5 separate regions of the Homo sapiens genome follow, and regions 1, 2, 4 and 5 are each linked to region 3. The links are contacts of gene promoters, found by promoter capture Hi-C in human tissues and cell types (Jung and others, 2019). All regions are on one chromosome and are shown on one strand. The core of a region is centred on a gene start or on the middle of the fragment in contact, and the rest is flanking DNA. Distances in the headings are between cores, read along the strand shown.

Region 1 (2,700 bases), core at 145-2,644, 290 kb before region 3:
GGCCTTGGAGGCTCTGGCAGAGAGGAGATTAGTACTCCATTCCTACCCCAGTTCTGCAGGGGAGCATGGCTGGCTTGCTCTTGAAGCCCTGGCCCCCCTCATCTGGATGCAGCCTACAGTGGGGTGAGCTGAGGCCTGGCTCCACACACCTCACAGGAACTCCTAGAAGAAGGGAGGCTGTCAGGTACCCCTGACCTCTTTCCTGAGCTGTTCAGGACTCGCTGGCTCACTCGGGGCAGGTGAATCCCGCTAACCCACCAACTGGCCTCACTTCTCCCTTCCACGGAGTAATAGCAGCCTCCACCTCCCAGGTCCATCTGTGCACTTGAACCCCTGGATTTCAGGCCCGGTGTTCCTCAGAGATGGCTGCTCCTTATGTGCCCTGGGCCTGGGCTGATAAACCAGAACCCATGGGTACCTCCCAACTCACTCCCTTTTGCTGCCAACTAAATTAGCTCCTGTGGGCATTCCTCCACCCCCAGCCCAAGAACAAACAGCAAATTAATGAAACAGATGGGCTCTGTCTGCTCTGCTGGCTCTCAGCACTCCCATATTCAGGGCAGGGCTGAGACTGGACTAAATCATTTCTCCTTTGCTCCTGGGCACACAGCTAGACTACATTGCTAGCCTCCCTTGTAGACAGCGACCTTGGGCCACTTGGCTGAGTTCTGGCCAGCGGAATGTGGGTAGAAGTGATGACTGGCGTGCCCACACCTGGCCTGTGACACCTCCTACGCAACATCCCGTCTGCCGCCCTGTTTTCTGCCAGCCGAATGAAGAGGATCCAACAGAGAACTCCGAGGCCCTAGGAGACTGGGGAGGACAAGTTGGAAGGAAGCTTTATTTGTTATTTTATTAAAATTATTATTATTATTATTTCAAGACAGGGTCCTGCACTGTTGCCCAGGCTGGAGTGCAGTGGTACAATTACAGTTCGTTGTAGCCTCCGACTCCTGGGCTCAAGTGATCCTCCGGCTTCAGCCTCTTGAGTAGCTGGGACTATAGGTGCATGCCACCACATCTAGCTAATTTAAAAAATACCCTGTAGAGTGAGCATCTCCCTATGTTGCCCAGGCTGGTCTCAATCCTGGCCTCAAGGATCCTGCTGCTTCAGCCTCCAGAGTGCCGGGATGACAGGTGTGAGCCACCGCACCCAGCCTAGAAGGAATCTTTAGAGAGTGAAAGACCTGGGTGGAAATCCCAGCTCAACCCCTCAAAGCTGTGTGATCCTGGGCAGGTCACTTACCTCTCTGAGCTCAGTTTCCTCGTCTATAGATAGAGGATAATGATAGTGCCATCCTTGTAAAGTTGTTTTGAGAATCAAATAGGATTCTTTGATTTGAAACAGCTCTGAAAGTTCATCGGAGCCCCAGGGCTCCCTGCAGTATTGTCTGGGCCCTTTGTAGCCACCGCATCACAGTTCAATTTCTCCCTCTGTCTAATTCTGCTCTTTTTCTCCTTTTCAGAAATCCCTACCGCTGAGTTCTGGTGGAAGGCAGTTAGTATTGGAAGAGGTCATGGGAAGCAGATTTTTCAATGGGATTTTTGAGTTGCGTTACTTGCTGGGTCCAGCAATGAGGCCCCCATCCCTGGGAGGTAGGGGTCTGTTGTGCTATAGCAGGGCAGTTGTTAAAACTCTCAGTCATGGTGAACTGGGATGGAAAATCCACAGAAGGGAATGCATTGGCAGATATATCTCAGCCATTTGAGAGATTTGGGGGAAGTAATCATTATAAAAACTGTGGAGTCAGATAGTGATTGCTGGCCAGGCACAGTGGCTCACCCCTCTGTAATTCCAGCACTTTGTGAGGCCACGATGGGAGGATCATTTGAGGGCAGAAGTTCAAGACCAGCCTGGGCAACCTAGCAAGATCCTGCCTCTACAAAAAAACGCAACCCAACCCAAACCAACTAAACAAACGAAAAACCATCCAAGAATGCCTGAAGACATTTCTGTTGTCATAATTGTGGGGGAGGGGGATGGCATGGCTATTGGTACCCAGGAGGTAGAGGTCAGCGATGCTGTTAAAAATCCTATGATGCGACCGGGCGCGGTGGCTCACGCCTGTAATCCCAACACTTTGGGAGGCCGAGGCAAGCAGATCACCTGCGGTCAGGAGTTCGAGACCAGCCTGGCCAACATGGCTAAATCCCATCTCTACTAAAAATACAAAAATTAACTGGGCATAGTGGCGGGTGCCTGTCATCCCAGCACTTTGGGAGACCAAGCTGGGTGGATCACCTGAGGTCAAGAGTTGGAGACCAGCCTGGCCAACATGGTGAAACCCCATCTCTACCAAAAATACAAAAATTAGCTGGGCATGGTGGCGGGTGCCTGTAATCCCAGCTACTCAGGAGGCTGAGGCAGGGAGAATCACTTGAACCCGGGAAGCAGAGGTTGCAGTGAGCCAAGACTGTGCCACTGCACTCCAGCCTGGATGACAGAGGGAAACGCTGTCTCAAAAAAAAAAAAAAAAAAAAATCCTACAGCTCCTACGACAAAGAATTATGTGGCCCAAAATGTGAATAGTGCCAAGGTGGTGGCGTGCATCTGTAGTCCCAGCTACTTGGGAGGCTGAGGAAAGAGGATCGCTTGAGCCCAAGAAGTCAAGTTTGCAGTGGGTGGTGAGCATACCACTGCACTCCAGCCTGAGTGACAGAGCAAGACCCTGTCTCAAAAAATAAAAGTAAAAAAGGGAA
Region 2 (2,700 bases), core at 17-2,516, 350 kb before region 3:
GTCAGACAGCCCTCCAGAGTCCCTTCCCCTTATTCCAGACCTGGAGGGCAGATGAGCCGCAGCCAGACAAATCTGATTTCTCAAGCAGGTTTAAAGGGCTTTTCCCAGAGACCCTGAGCTCATTTCTCCTTTCTGTGTCTCCAAAGTGCCAAGGCAGCAATTTGGATCTCAAACGCCCCGATAGGGGTGCAGCCAAGTTCTTTATTGCACACAATGAATTTGTTATGTGGGGATTCTTTGGCCTAAAGGATGGCTTAAAGTCCTGGTGTCCCACTGTGTCCCAGCGTGGCCAGTGCTGAGGGGCAGGAGAGCTGCCTTGCTTGCCTGTCTTCTGAGAGGATGGTTGTGGACACCTGAGGTCAGAGACAGATCACCTGTGGACTCCAGTCCTGCTGCTGGCTGCTCCTGTTTATTGAGAGCTTTGCAGGCCCAGAGAAACCCAGTCATTTATCTACAGTCCCACAGCAGGAAGCTGCAGGGCTGAGATTTGCTCCCAGTCCTGTCTGACCTCAAAATCCCCTGCTCTTGATCGTGAGGCCACACTCCCTCAGCCTGGTGAGCCTGTGGGCCCAGCTGCTCTAGGGGTAACGCACCACCTCCCAGCCCCTAGTTCACCCAGGGGCCTTATAAGATGCAGCAGGACTGAGCCAGAAGCCGAAGGGAATGACAGCCTGGGGCTGAGGTTCCTGGGTCCCTGACACTCACAAACTGCTCCAGCTCTCAGAAGCCAATCAGAGACTCCGTAGTTTCCTGCTCGGCTGAATTCTCCTCTCTGGAGGCAGAGAAAGGAGGTGCTTTGCCATCTCTGGTTGTGGGGCTTTATCTCTGGAAACTCTGCAGTGCGTGTGAAAACCTGTGGACCAAAGAACGAGGAAGAAAGATTAAAGAGGGAAAGGATTAAGATCTACAGGGCTTCCCATGCTCTGCACAGCCGCTCTCAGAAGCTGCTCTGCGATCTCTCTATTAGATGACCGACAGCTGCCAGCTCTGGAGGTGAGAAGGGCTGAGCCCCTCACCCCAGCCAGGAGCCACTGAGAAAGCAGCATAGTCAGGACAAAAAGACAGGAAGGGCGGGGGCGGGGGTGTCGGGGTGTTGGGAGGTGGCAGAACACAGAAGTGGATTTCACTGGAATAAAAGGGCAGATGGGAGGGCAGAGCCGTGGATGTGTTCCATGAGTGCCATGCTGCAGGGTGAAGGGACCCTGGCCCTCCCATCTGTCTCCCTTCCCACCTGGATTAGTGAGCTACCCCAAACTTAGCAGCTTAAGACAACAATAAACATCTCTATATTCCAGTTTCTGTGGGTCAGGAACCTGTGGGCAGCTGAGTTCAGGGTCTCTCCTGAGGTCACCGTCGTCAGGGGTCTTGCTGGGGCTGGAGGACCCACCTCCAAGATAGAACTCACATGGTGCTAGGCTCCTTCAGCACAGGCCTCCCCACGTGTTGGCACTCCCCAGAGTGGGTGATACAGAAGAGAAAGAACCAGGCCAAAGCCGCCATGGTTGTTTTTTTTTTTTTTTTTGAGATAGGGTCTCACTCTGTCACCCAGGCTGGAGTGCAGTGGTGGGATCATAGCCCACTGCAGCCTCGAACTCTTGGGCTCAAGCACTCCTTCCACCTCAGCCTCCCAAGTAGCTGGGACTATAGGCGGGCACCACCACACCTAGCTCATTTTTAGTTTTTTCTTTGGTAGAGATGGGGGTCTCACTATGTTACCCAGGCTGGTCTCGAACTGACCTCAAGTGATCCTCCTACCTCAACCTCCCAAAGTGCTGGGATTACAGGCATGAGGCCACTGTGCCCAGCCCCCTACCATGGCTTTTTTATGAACTGGTCTCAGAAGTCTCATACCATCCTTAAGGTCACCCATTATTGTTCCCAGCTTCCCCTGCACTCTAGACAATCACTGCTGACAGCCAGGCTGCCAGGGGTTCCTGCAGTGGCTGTGTCTGATGCCAACATGGCCAGCCCCTAAAGGTTGTGATATCTGTGTCCCCAGGACCCCTTTTCAGATATCATGATGGGCAACATCAGTCTAGGAAGGTAGACCCTCCAAACTGTGCACCATCCCACACCCTTCACCCACCTCCACCCTCTCCTTGTTGCCCCGCTTATAGCCACATCTTCCATCTCCAAAGAAGATGCTCTCAGCAGTGACTGGAGCATGGGGAGGCTGGAAACAGTAGGGGTCCACTTTTATGGAGTGCTTGCTATGTGTGAAGTTGGTACTGAGCACGGCAAAAGTACTAACTCCTTACAGCCTCTCTGCAGGATAGGTGCCTCCCATTTTATAGATGGGGAAACTGAGGCACAGGGAGGGTAAGTGGCTTGCTGAAGACACACAGCTCTCAAGTGGCAGAGCTAGGAACTGAACCCTAGTACTCTGCCTCCAGAGCCCATGCTGTTAACCTTATATTTATAGCATTTGTGACATTAGGCAACATTTCCTTTCCGCAAGAGAGCCGCATTCATCAGGCAGGGATTGGAGTTCAGGGTACAGCAAGAAAGACACAGGTTAGATACCTGGAGGGCTTTCCAGGCCACAGGTCATGAGGCCTCAGTGCAACTTTGTCCCCTGAGGATGTTCAGAAAATGAGGTCTTCCCAGGCTGCGTTGAGCACAGCCAAAGGCTAAGGGGCGGTGGTCATTGTTTTTAAATTAAAAATTGTGATAATTTATACATAATACAAAATGTTCCAT
Region 3 (2,700 bases), core at 58-2,557:
GTCGTTGCTTCCCCTTCACCTTCCACCACCATGATTGTAAGTTCCTTTTTTCTTTTCTTTTCTTTTTTTTTTTTTTTTTTTTGAGATGGAGTCTCGCTCTGTCGCCCAGGCTGGAGTGCAGTGGCGCAATCTCAGCTCACTGCAAGCTCTGCCTCCCAGGTTCGCGCCATTCACCTGCCTCAGCCTCTGGAGTAGCTGAGACTACAGGCGCCCACCACCATGCCCGGCTAATTTTGTTTGTATTTTTAGTAGAGATGGAGTTTCACCATGTTGGCCAGGGTGGTCTCAATCTCCTGACCTCGTGATCCACCCACCTCGACCTCCCAAAGTGCTGAGATTACAGGCGTGAGCCACCGCGCCCAGCGATTGTTTCTTGAGGCTTCCCCAGCCATATGGAACTATAAGTCAATTAAACCTCTTTCCTTTTATAAATCACCCAGTCTCGGGTATTTCTTTATAGCAGTGTGAACATGGACTATAATCCAGTGCTCAATAAGTACTCCTCACATTTAGCTATCTCAGTCAAGGGTGAGCTAGATAAGGGCTTTGGCCAGGGCAGGATCACCACCCACCAGCCCATGGCAAACTGCAAAAGGACGGCCTTCCACGGAGAACATGTAGCCCTGACTGCAATTAATGTGTCCTGGGCCAGTCCCCTTGTGCAGTACACAGCCTGCACAACCCTTGGTGGTTGCCTGAACAAGGTGCTTGCTAAATATTTGTTGACTGATGGAAGAAATTCATGAACTTAATCCTGATAAAAAACCTCAGAGGTTTTTTATTTTTTGAGACAAGGTCTGGCTCTGTCGCCCAGGCTGCAGTGCAGTGGTACAGTCTCCACTCACTGCAGCCTCCCAGGTTCAAGCGATTCTCCCACCTCAGCCTCCGGAGGAGCTGGGATTATAGACCTGTGCCACCACGCCCGGCTAATTTTTGTATATTTAGTAGAGACAGGGTTTTTGCCATGTTGGCCAGGCTGGTCTCGAACTCCTGACCTCAAGCGATCCTCCCCACCTCGGCCTCCCAAAGTGCTGGGATCACAGGCGTTAGCCACCTCCTAGCACCTCAGGTTTTTTACCTTTGAGTCTATGAAGCCTGCGGAGGTCACGCCCTAGGGAAAGAAGGAGCCCACTGGGTGTCAGGTCCTGCCTCTAGGGAGGGGACCGCGGGTCAAGGGTGGAGCCCTGGGCCGCATAAGGAAGGAACTAGTGCGGAGGTCCGGGGAGCGGCCGCGCGTTCGGGAGCTTCGGCCCTGCGTAGGAGGCGGGTGCAGGTGTGGGTGCTGAGCCGCCCGCCGCCTGGAGGGGGAGACAGCTTCAGGACACGCAGGCCGCAGCGAGGGCCCGGGCCCTGGGGATCCCAGGTTCGTCTTCCCGCGGCGAGGGTTAGGGGCCGGGCCGAGAGGGACGGCAGCGGGGTCCGGGGCGGGGGTGGGGACCGAGCGCAGCGCGTGACGCGGCGGCGGGGCCCAGCGACAACGAAGCCGAGGCCGTAGGCTCGGGCCGACCTGGAGCTCCGCCGCTGCGCCCAGGTCGCGTCCCCGGGGGGACGGGCGGCGGGCGAGTGGGGAGCCGGGGTCTCCGGCGCCTGGGCGTTCACGGAGCCTGCGGGCGCTGGTCCGGGCGGCCAGGGGTGGGGGGCGCGGGCGGCTGGGCCCGGACTTCGACTGGGGGCCTGGCCCCGGGGCCACCCAGGCGGAGGCTCTGCGGCCGCCTCCACCCCGGCCACATCCCGAGGCCGGCGCCGGGTTCGGAGAACTGTCAAGGGACCTCCAGGCCCCCACACGCCTGCGAGATCCGGCGCTTGCCTTGCCCCAGCCACAGTTTCTGTTTCCGAGAAACCGGTGAAGTAACAATGCCACTAGAGCTTGCTGGGAGGGTGGGTGCGGAGAAGGCGAGCACGAGACGCCGGGCCGGGCAGTTGGGGACCCCGATCGGTGTGAGAGGGCTTCCTAGGGCTGGCATGGACTTCCCCACCACAAAATGCCCAGGGCCGGGGGGGGGAAGGGGCGCAAGAAAATGCGGACTGGGCCAGAGACCAGACTTCGGTCACCACGGTGGGAAGCTATTGGTGCCTAGATGCCTCTAGCTTGGAGCCCAGTGACTTTTATTTCGTCTAGAGTCTAGACAGTGCCTTTAGAAGCTGCCAGCATTTATTTATTTATTTATTTATGGCAGAGTCTTGCTCTGTCACCCAGGCTGGAGTGCAGTGGCATGATCACGGCTCACTGCAGCCTCGACTTCCTGGGCTCAAGCGTTCCTCCTGCCTCAGCCTCCTGCATAGCTGGGACTACAGGCACGGGCCACCAGGCCTAGCTAATTTCTTTTTTTTTTTTTTTTTTTTTTTTTTTGAGACGGAGTGTCGCTCTGTCGCCCAGGCTGGAGTGCAGTGGCGCGATCTCAGCTCACTGCAAGCTCCGCCTCCCGGGTTCAGGCCGTCCTCCTGCCTCAGCCTCCCGAGTAGCTGGGACTACAGGCACCTGCTTCTCGAGTAGCTGGGACTACAGGCACCTGCAACCAAGCCCGGCTAATTTTTTGTATTTTTAGTAGAGATGGAGTTTCACTGTGTTAGCCAGGACGGTCTCGATCTCCTAACCTCGTGATCCGCCCACCTCGGCCTCCCAAAGTGCTGGGATTACAGGCGTGAGCCACCGCGCCCGGCCTTTTTTTTTTTTTTTTTTTTTTTTGAGACAGATTCTCA
Region 4 (2,700 bases), core at 132-2,631, 330 kb before region 3:
TCCCAGCACTTTGGGAGGCCAATGTGTGTGGATTGCTTAAGCCCAGGAGTTGAAGACCGGTCTGGGCAACATGGCGAAACCCTGTCTCTACAAAAAATACAAAGATTAGCTGAGCATGGTGGCACGTGCCTATAGTCCCAGCTAGTAGGGAGGTGGACATAAGAGGATCCCTTGAGCCCAGTAGGCCAAGGCTGCAGTGAGCCATGATCAGGCCATTGGACTCCAGCCTGGGTGACAGAGTGAGACCCTGCCTGTGTCAAAAAAAAAAAAAAAAAAAAAAAAAAAGCCTGGGCTCAGTGGCTCACACCTGTAATCCCAGCACTTTGGGAGGCCGAGGCGGGGGATCATTTGAGGTCAGGAGTTCGAGACCAGCCTGGCCAACATGGTGAAACCCCGTCTCTACTAAAAATACAAAGAATTAGCAGGGTGTGGTGGTGCGCGTCTGTAATCCCAGCTACACGGGAGGCTGAGGCAGGAGAATCACTTGAACCCAGGAGGTAGAGGTTGCAGTGAGCCGAGATTGTGCCACTGCACTCCAGCCTGGGTGACAGAGCGAGACTCCATCTTGGAAAAAAAAAGACAAAAAATCCAAGCTTCTCTTTGTGTCCCATGCCTGACCTAACCTTCTCTTCTTTTTCCAGCCTCTTCTCACCCCAAGATCTCCTCCACTGCCCTACCACACTGACCCTTTCTGCCCCTGTACCGCCAGAACTCGGTCTCTCTCCACACCTTTGCCCTTCCATTCTCTCTGCCTGGCATGCTCTCGTCTCAGATCTAAGGGCTGACTGCTTCTTATCATTCAGGTCTCAGCACAGATGTCACCTCTGTGCAGAGCCTTCTCCTGACCACCCCCGAACCCAGCACATCCTATCTCCTTTTCCTGTTTTATTGCTTCATTGCATTTGACATTGTGAGTCTAAAATCTAAGATTTTGTCATTTATTTATAGTTTATTCTTTTCATATCTGTCTCCCCCACTGGAATGTCAGTTAGCTCCATGAGGGCAGGGACTGTGTCTGGTCATTGCTCTGACTCTGGGGCCCTGAACAGTGTGCGCCTCATAATAGGTGTTCAATAAATGTTTGCTGAATGCATGAATGCATGAACATTTCATGTTGGAGGGAGGCTTGCTTGGGGCATCCCTGCTGGGCAGCTTAGCTCCTTCCTGCCCCAGGACCTTGCTATGCCAACACTAGAAGGTGAGGAGGGGGGCAGGGAGGGAAGTGGGGATGAGGTCAGAGCTCCCAGCCTGAGTGCCACTCCTCGGGTGCTGAGCCGTGGGGGGTGACGGCCGCTCTGAGGGAGATGGATGACCTGTACTGGGTGGCTGCCCCGGGAAGCTGCTTCCTATTAATAACAGCAGTAGCACTGCCAGGAGGGGAAGGGGAGGGAGGCAGAGGCAGCGGAGATGGGATAATGCCCCTCACCCCTCACCAAGCCAGGAAAATGGCATCGTATTTTCTAGAAGACAAGAATGCCACTTTTAAAGAAAATTAGGCCAGGCACGGTGGCTCACGCCTGTAATCCCAGCACTTTGGGAGGCCGAGGCGGGCGGATCACCAGGTCAGGAGATCGAGACCATCCTGGTGAACACGGTGAAACCCCGCCTCTACTAAAAAAAAAATACAAAAAATTAGCCGGGCATGGTGGCGGGCGTCTGTAGTCCCAGCTACTTGGGAGGCTGAGGCAGGAGAACGGTGTGAACCCTGGAGGCGGAGCTTGCAGTGAGCCGAGATCGCGCCACTGCATTCTAGCCTGGGCGACAGAGTGAAACTCTGTCTCAAAAAAAAAAAAAAAAAAAAAAATTTGGCCTGGTTTGTAAATGGGTCTCTGTCTGCTCTGCAGCCCTCCCTGTGGACAACTCCTCCGTGCGTGGAGGCTTCTTCCCCGGCTGGGTGGACCCTACAGGCAGCCAGAGGGATGTCCCCCTTACCCCTCCCCTTGTCTGGGCCAGCCCCAAACAGAGGCCGTGGCTGAGAGGGAAGTGTCTGCACCCTGGGGCTGGGGAGGATGAACTTTGTCCAAACTCCTCTGACTCCTTTCTCCGAGGGTGGTTATTGGGAAACAGGAGTGAAGGTGAGTATGGGAGGGAGGAGGAGGAGGAGAAGCAGAGAGAGAACAGAGATGGTGTAGGCTGCTTGGTGGCAGACCGGGGCGTGGGCAGGAAGGCCCAATCTGGTCCCACCAGATACCTGGCTTTGCCCTTGTCCTGGGGCAGGCAGGGGGCATTGAGGAGCTGGCAGAACTGTGGACAGAAGGAGAGCGGAGCCGCTTTCTCTCCCAGCGAGAAAAGAGCCCAGTCACTCTCATTTTCAGGGGAAGCAACATGCCACACCCCCCGAGACACCTCTGTCCCCAGCACAGTAGCTCCTGATGGCTGCCCGGTGAGGATGCTGCGGGCAGGTCCCACTGTCCCCCCAGGCTCTGGCGTGCTCCCCCCAACCAAGATGCCCCAGCAGGGCCCCTAGTGGCCCAGGTCTGTGGCCATCCTGGTTCCTGTCTCCACTGTCTATCTGGAGCCCCTCTCCAAGCCTCCATCCCCCACCAGCCCCCTCCCCGCCTCACCGGGCCACAGCCCCAGCTTGGTCTCTATCTTCTCACCCAGCCCTGCCTCTCACTAGGCCTCACTGCCGCCTAGCCCTATCCCTTCTTTGGGCCCTGATCCTCTGTCCTGAGTCCTCTGGCCCCGGACACGTTATAC
Region 5 (2,700 bases), core at 111-2,610, 450 kb before region 3:
CCAACACGTGTCCATCATATTTAACAGCCCTAAGAAAACCCAATCCCTTCATGGTTTATGAGCAGTAACAAAGAGGGCTTTCATGAAAATAGAAAAGCACCCTTGTGATATTAAAGTAAAATTGCTTTGTTGTGTGTGAGGCAAATAACCCAATTGTCTATTTCTGGCAGAACAATTACTGCAGGATTTCTCTTCAGCCTTCATGCCTTGTAGTTTTGTACCTGGGAACCTGGAGCAACAGCCCTTCCTCCCCCTCAAAATCCAGTGGGCTTTGTTCCACTTCCTGTACTAAGACTGTAACAGCTCTACAAAGATCCGTGAAAAAAAGTCTATGTCATTCAAACTTGCTTCTGAGCCTTCCTTGACCCAAACATGGAAGAGGCCAAAGCATTAACTTCTACTCACTCTCATGAGGGTGACTATTTCATCCATATAAGGTCTGATGTGGCTCTTCACAAAGGACACCAACATTCCCAGCTGCTGGAACAAAAACTGAAATGGACAAGAGGTCAACCAGCTGGTATCATGAAGGACATTGAACCCCCAGGCTTACCTTAAGCTCATGTGAACAAATAAAGGCAACTATGGAATGGGTTTCCACACTACACTATCTACTGAGAATATATTTCAAAGACCCAAGCTTGGCTAGGTTTGGAGGCTCAGTGCTTTGGGAGGCCAAGGCGGGAGGACTGCTTGAGGCCAAGATTTCAAGAACAGCCTGGGCAACATGGCGAGATCCTGTCTCTACAAAAAAAATACAAAAAATTAGCTGGGCACTTGCCTGTAGTTCTAGCTACTGGATGCTAAGGTGGGAGAAATGCTTGAGCCCAGAAGTTCAAGGCTGTAGTGAGCTATGCACGTGCCACTGCACTCTACAGAGTGCAGGGTGACAGGGTGAGACCCTGTCTCTTAAAAAAAAAAAAAAAAAAGACACAAACTTAAATGGTGATAGTGGTGGGGACTCAAAACAATTGTCAGAGGTTTTTACACACAAGGCGAGCCAGTTACTGCACAGCAGGGGCTTTGTAACCCTCATTTAACCTCCCTGTGCCCAGGCTCTTCCATGGGAAAATGGAGATAATAATACTTACCTCATAGACTTCTAAGGCTTAAATGGGATAATTCATGTCAAGCACTAGAACAGGGACGTGAATACTATTCAGTGCTCAATGAATGTCTGTATCATTGAAGGATTCCTGGAATTACTAAACTTAAAAATAAACCTGAAAGTTTTTACCAACTGTAAATGTACCTTTTGTTTATTTGGCTCTAATTAATTACCACTTCCTTCCTAAAATAAATACAGCTAACTCTTGATTATGGGTATTGTAGCTCATTTATAGTAATTAACTCATTACTTAGGTCTTAATTAATTAACTATGTCTCTGAGAGATTATGAGCCAAAATAAGCAAGCAAACTGGGGTAGGGATAGGATGAGGAGATTCTACTGAAGTCAGTACCTTTTAGGTGTAGGAAGAAAAAACATGCACTAAATAAAGCTGGGAATAAGGAAGGTGTGGGTAAAGAAAATCTCAACTACTTTCCAGGTTAAAGATTTGTCTTCAAGATGTAGGTTTTATTTTGTTATGAGCTTCAGATAGTATTACACGCCAGTAATAAGTAGCAAATAATATTTGACACCCCTTCCCCCAATTTTTTTTTTTTTGAGACAGAGTCTCACTCTGTCACCCAGGCTGGAGTACAGTGGCATGATCTCGGCTCACTGCAAGCTCCCGGGTTCAAGCCTCCCGGGTTCAAGCCATTCTCCTGCCTCTGCCTCCCGAGTAGCTGGGACTACAGGCGCCCGCCACCATGCCCGGCTAATTTTTTTTTTTTTTTGTATTTTTTTAGTAGAGACAGGGTTTCACCGTGTTAGCCAGGATGGTCTCGCTCTCTTGACTTCATGATCCGCCCGCCTTGCCCTCCCAAAGTGCTGCGATTACAGTCGTGAGCCACCACGCCTGGCCCCCTTCCCCAAATTTTTACAGCTCTCTCTGCCTTTGTTTCTCTCCATTAACAAGGATAATTTAGAAAATGAACATATGTATTTTCACTCCTATCCACATGCAAGTCGGGTAAGTTGGAATAAATAAAAAGCATTACTTAAAAAAAAAAGTGCTATCTCAAACAGTGAGTAATGGATTTATAGTACTCATTACCCAAAGAGGCAAGATCGATAGGACATACAGGATTGGGCTTAAAGAAGAGTTTGAACATATTCCCTAATGATAACTTTGACTTCTAAGGTGATTACAGCCTGGTCCCCATGTGGCACACATTTGACTCAGTAGGCTCATTTCTACCTATCTCCTGGTCCCCACCATTCCCCAAATTGAATCACTACAGTTTTGTAGTGATTCCCCATACAAATATGTATAGTGGTCCCTATACAAATATGTTATTACAGGCCGGGCGCGGTGGTTCACGCCTGTAATCCCAGCACTTTGGGAGGCTGAGGCGGGCAGATCACAAGGTCAAGAGTTTGAGATCAGCCTGGCCAACATGGTGAAACCCCATCTCTACTAAAAATACAAAATTTAGCTGGGCATGGTGGCATGTGCCTGTAATCCCAGCTACTCGGGAGGCTGAGGCAGGAGAATTGCTTGAAACCGGAAGGCGGAGGTTGCAGTGAGCTAAGGTCACACCATTGTACTCCAACCTGGGCGACAGGGCGAGACTCCATCTCAAAAAAAAAAAAA

Evidence for each region. The method cuts DNA at HindIII sites, captures the fragments that hold promoters and counts their contacts. A contact is called where the count stands out against the background at its distance.
Region 1: a fragment that was not itself captured here is called in contact with the fragment with the promoter of FBXO6 in region 3 in 6 of the 25 tissues and cell types used here (adrenal gland, dorsolateral prefrontal cortex, lymphoblastoid cells and 3 more).
Region 2: a fragment that was not itself captured here is called in contact with the fragment with the promoter of FBXO6 in region 3 in 1 of the 25 tissues and cell types used here (H1 embryonic stem cells).
Region 4: a fragment that was not itself captured here is called in contact with the fragment with the promoter of FBXO6 in region 3 in 2 of the 25 tissues and cell types used here (mesendoderm cells and neural progenitor cells).
Region 5: a fragment that was not itself captured here is called in contact with the fragment with the promoter of FBXO6 in region 3 in 4 of the 25 tissues and cell types used here (dorsolateral prefrontal cortex, heart left ventricle, lymphoblastoid cells and 1 more).

Annotation. Positions count from the first base shown.
Region 1 is chr1:11,376,677-11,379,376 of GRCh38, forward strand. LOC105376740 (a long non-coding RNA gene) reads left to right here. Exons shown (of 4, transcript XR_946959.3): 4 at 611-860. Among named protein-coding and RNA genes, the nearest start is that of DISP3, 100 kb to the right of the region's middle. The HindIII fragment of the contact is 5,798 bases long and covers 1-2,700 here.
Region 2 is chr1:11,311,551-11,314,250 of GRCh38, forward strand. It overlaps LOC105376737 (a long non-coding RNA gene), which reads right to left. Exons shown (of 3, transcript XR_946957.4): 3 at 326-853. Among named protein-coding and RNA genes, the nearest start is that of UBIAD1, 40 kb to the left of the region's middle. The HindIII fragment of the contact is 9,068 bases long and covers 1-2,700 here.
Region 3 is chr1:11,662,893-11,665,592 of GRCh38, forward strand. FBXO6 (F-box protein 6) reads left to right here and starts at 1,308. Exons shown (of 6, transcript NM_018438.6): 1 at 1,308-1,363. It overlaps FBXO44 (F-box protein 44), which reads left to right. Exons shown (of 6, transcript NM_033182.7): 6 at 1-435. RefSeq lists silencers at 1,374-1,593, 1,644-1,713 and an enhancer at 1,834-1,883. The HindIII fragment of the contact is 9,200 bases long and covers 1-2,700 here.
Region 4 is chr1:11,332,535-11,335,234 of GRCh38, forward strand. No RefSeq gene overlaps it. Among named protein-coding and RNA genes, the nearest start is that of UBIAD1, 61 kb to the left of the region's middle. RefSeq lists an enhancer at 1,306-1,808. The HindIII fragment of the contact is 5,983 bases long and covers 1-2,700 here.
Region 5 is chr1:11,215,743-11,218,442 of GRCh38, forward strand. It overlaps MTOR (mechanistic target of rapamycin kinase), which reads right to left. Exons shown (of 58, transcript NM_004958.4): 20 at 406-492. Among named protein-coding and RNA genes, the nearest start is that of ANGPTL7, 28 kb to the left of the region's middle. The HindIII fragment of the contact is 5,065 bases long and covers 1-2,700 here.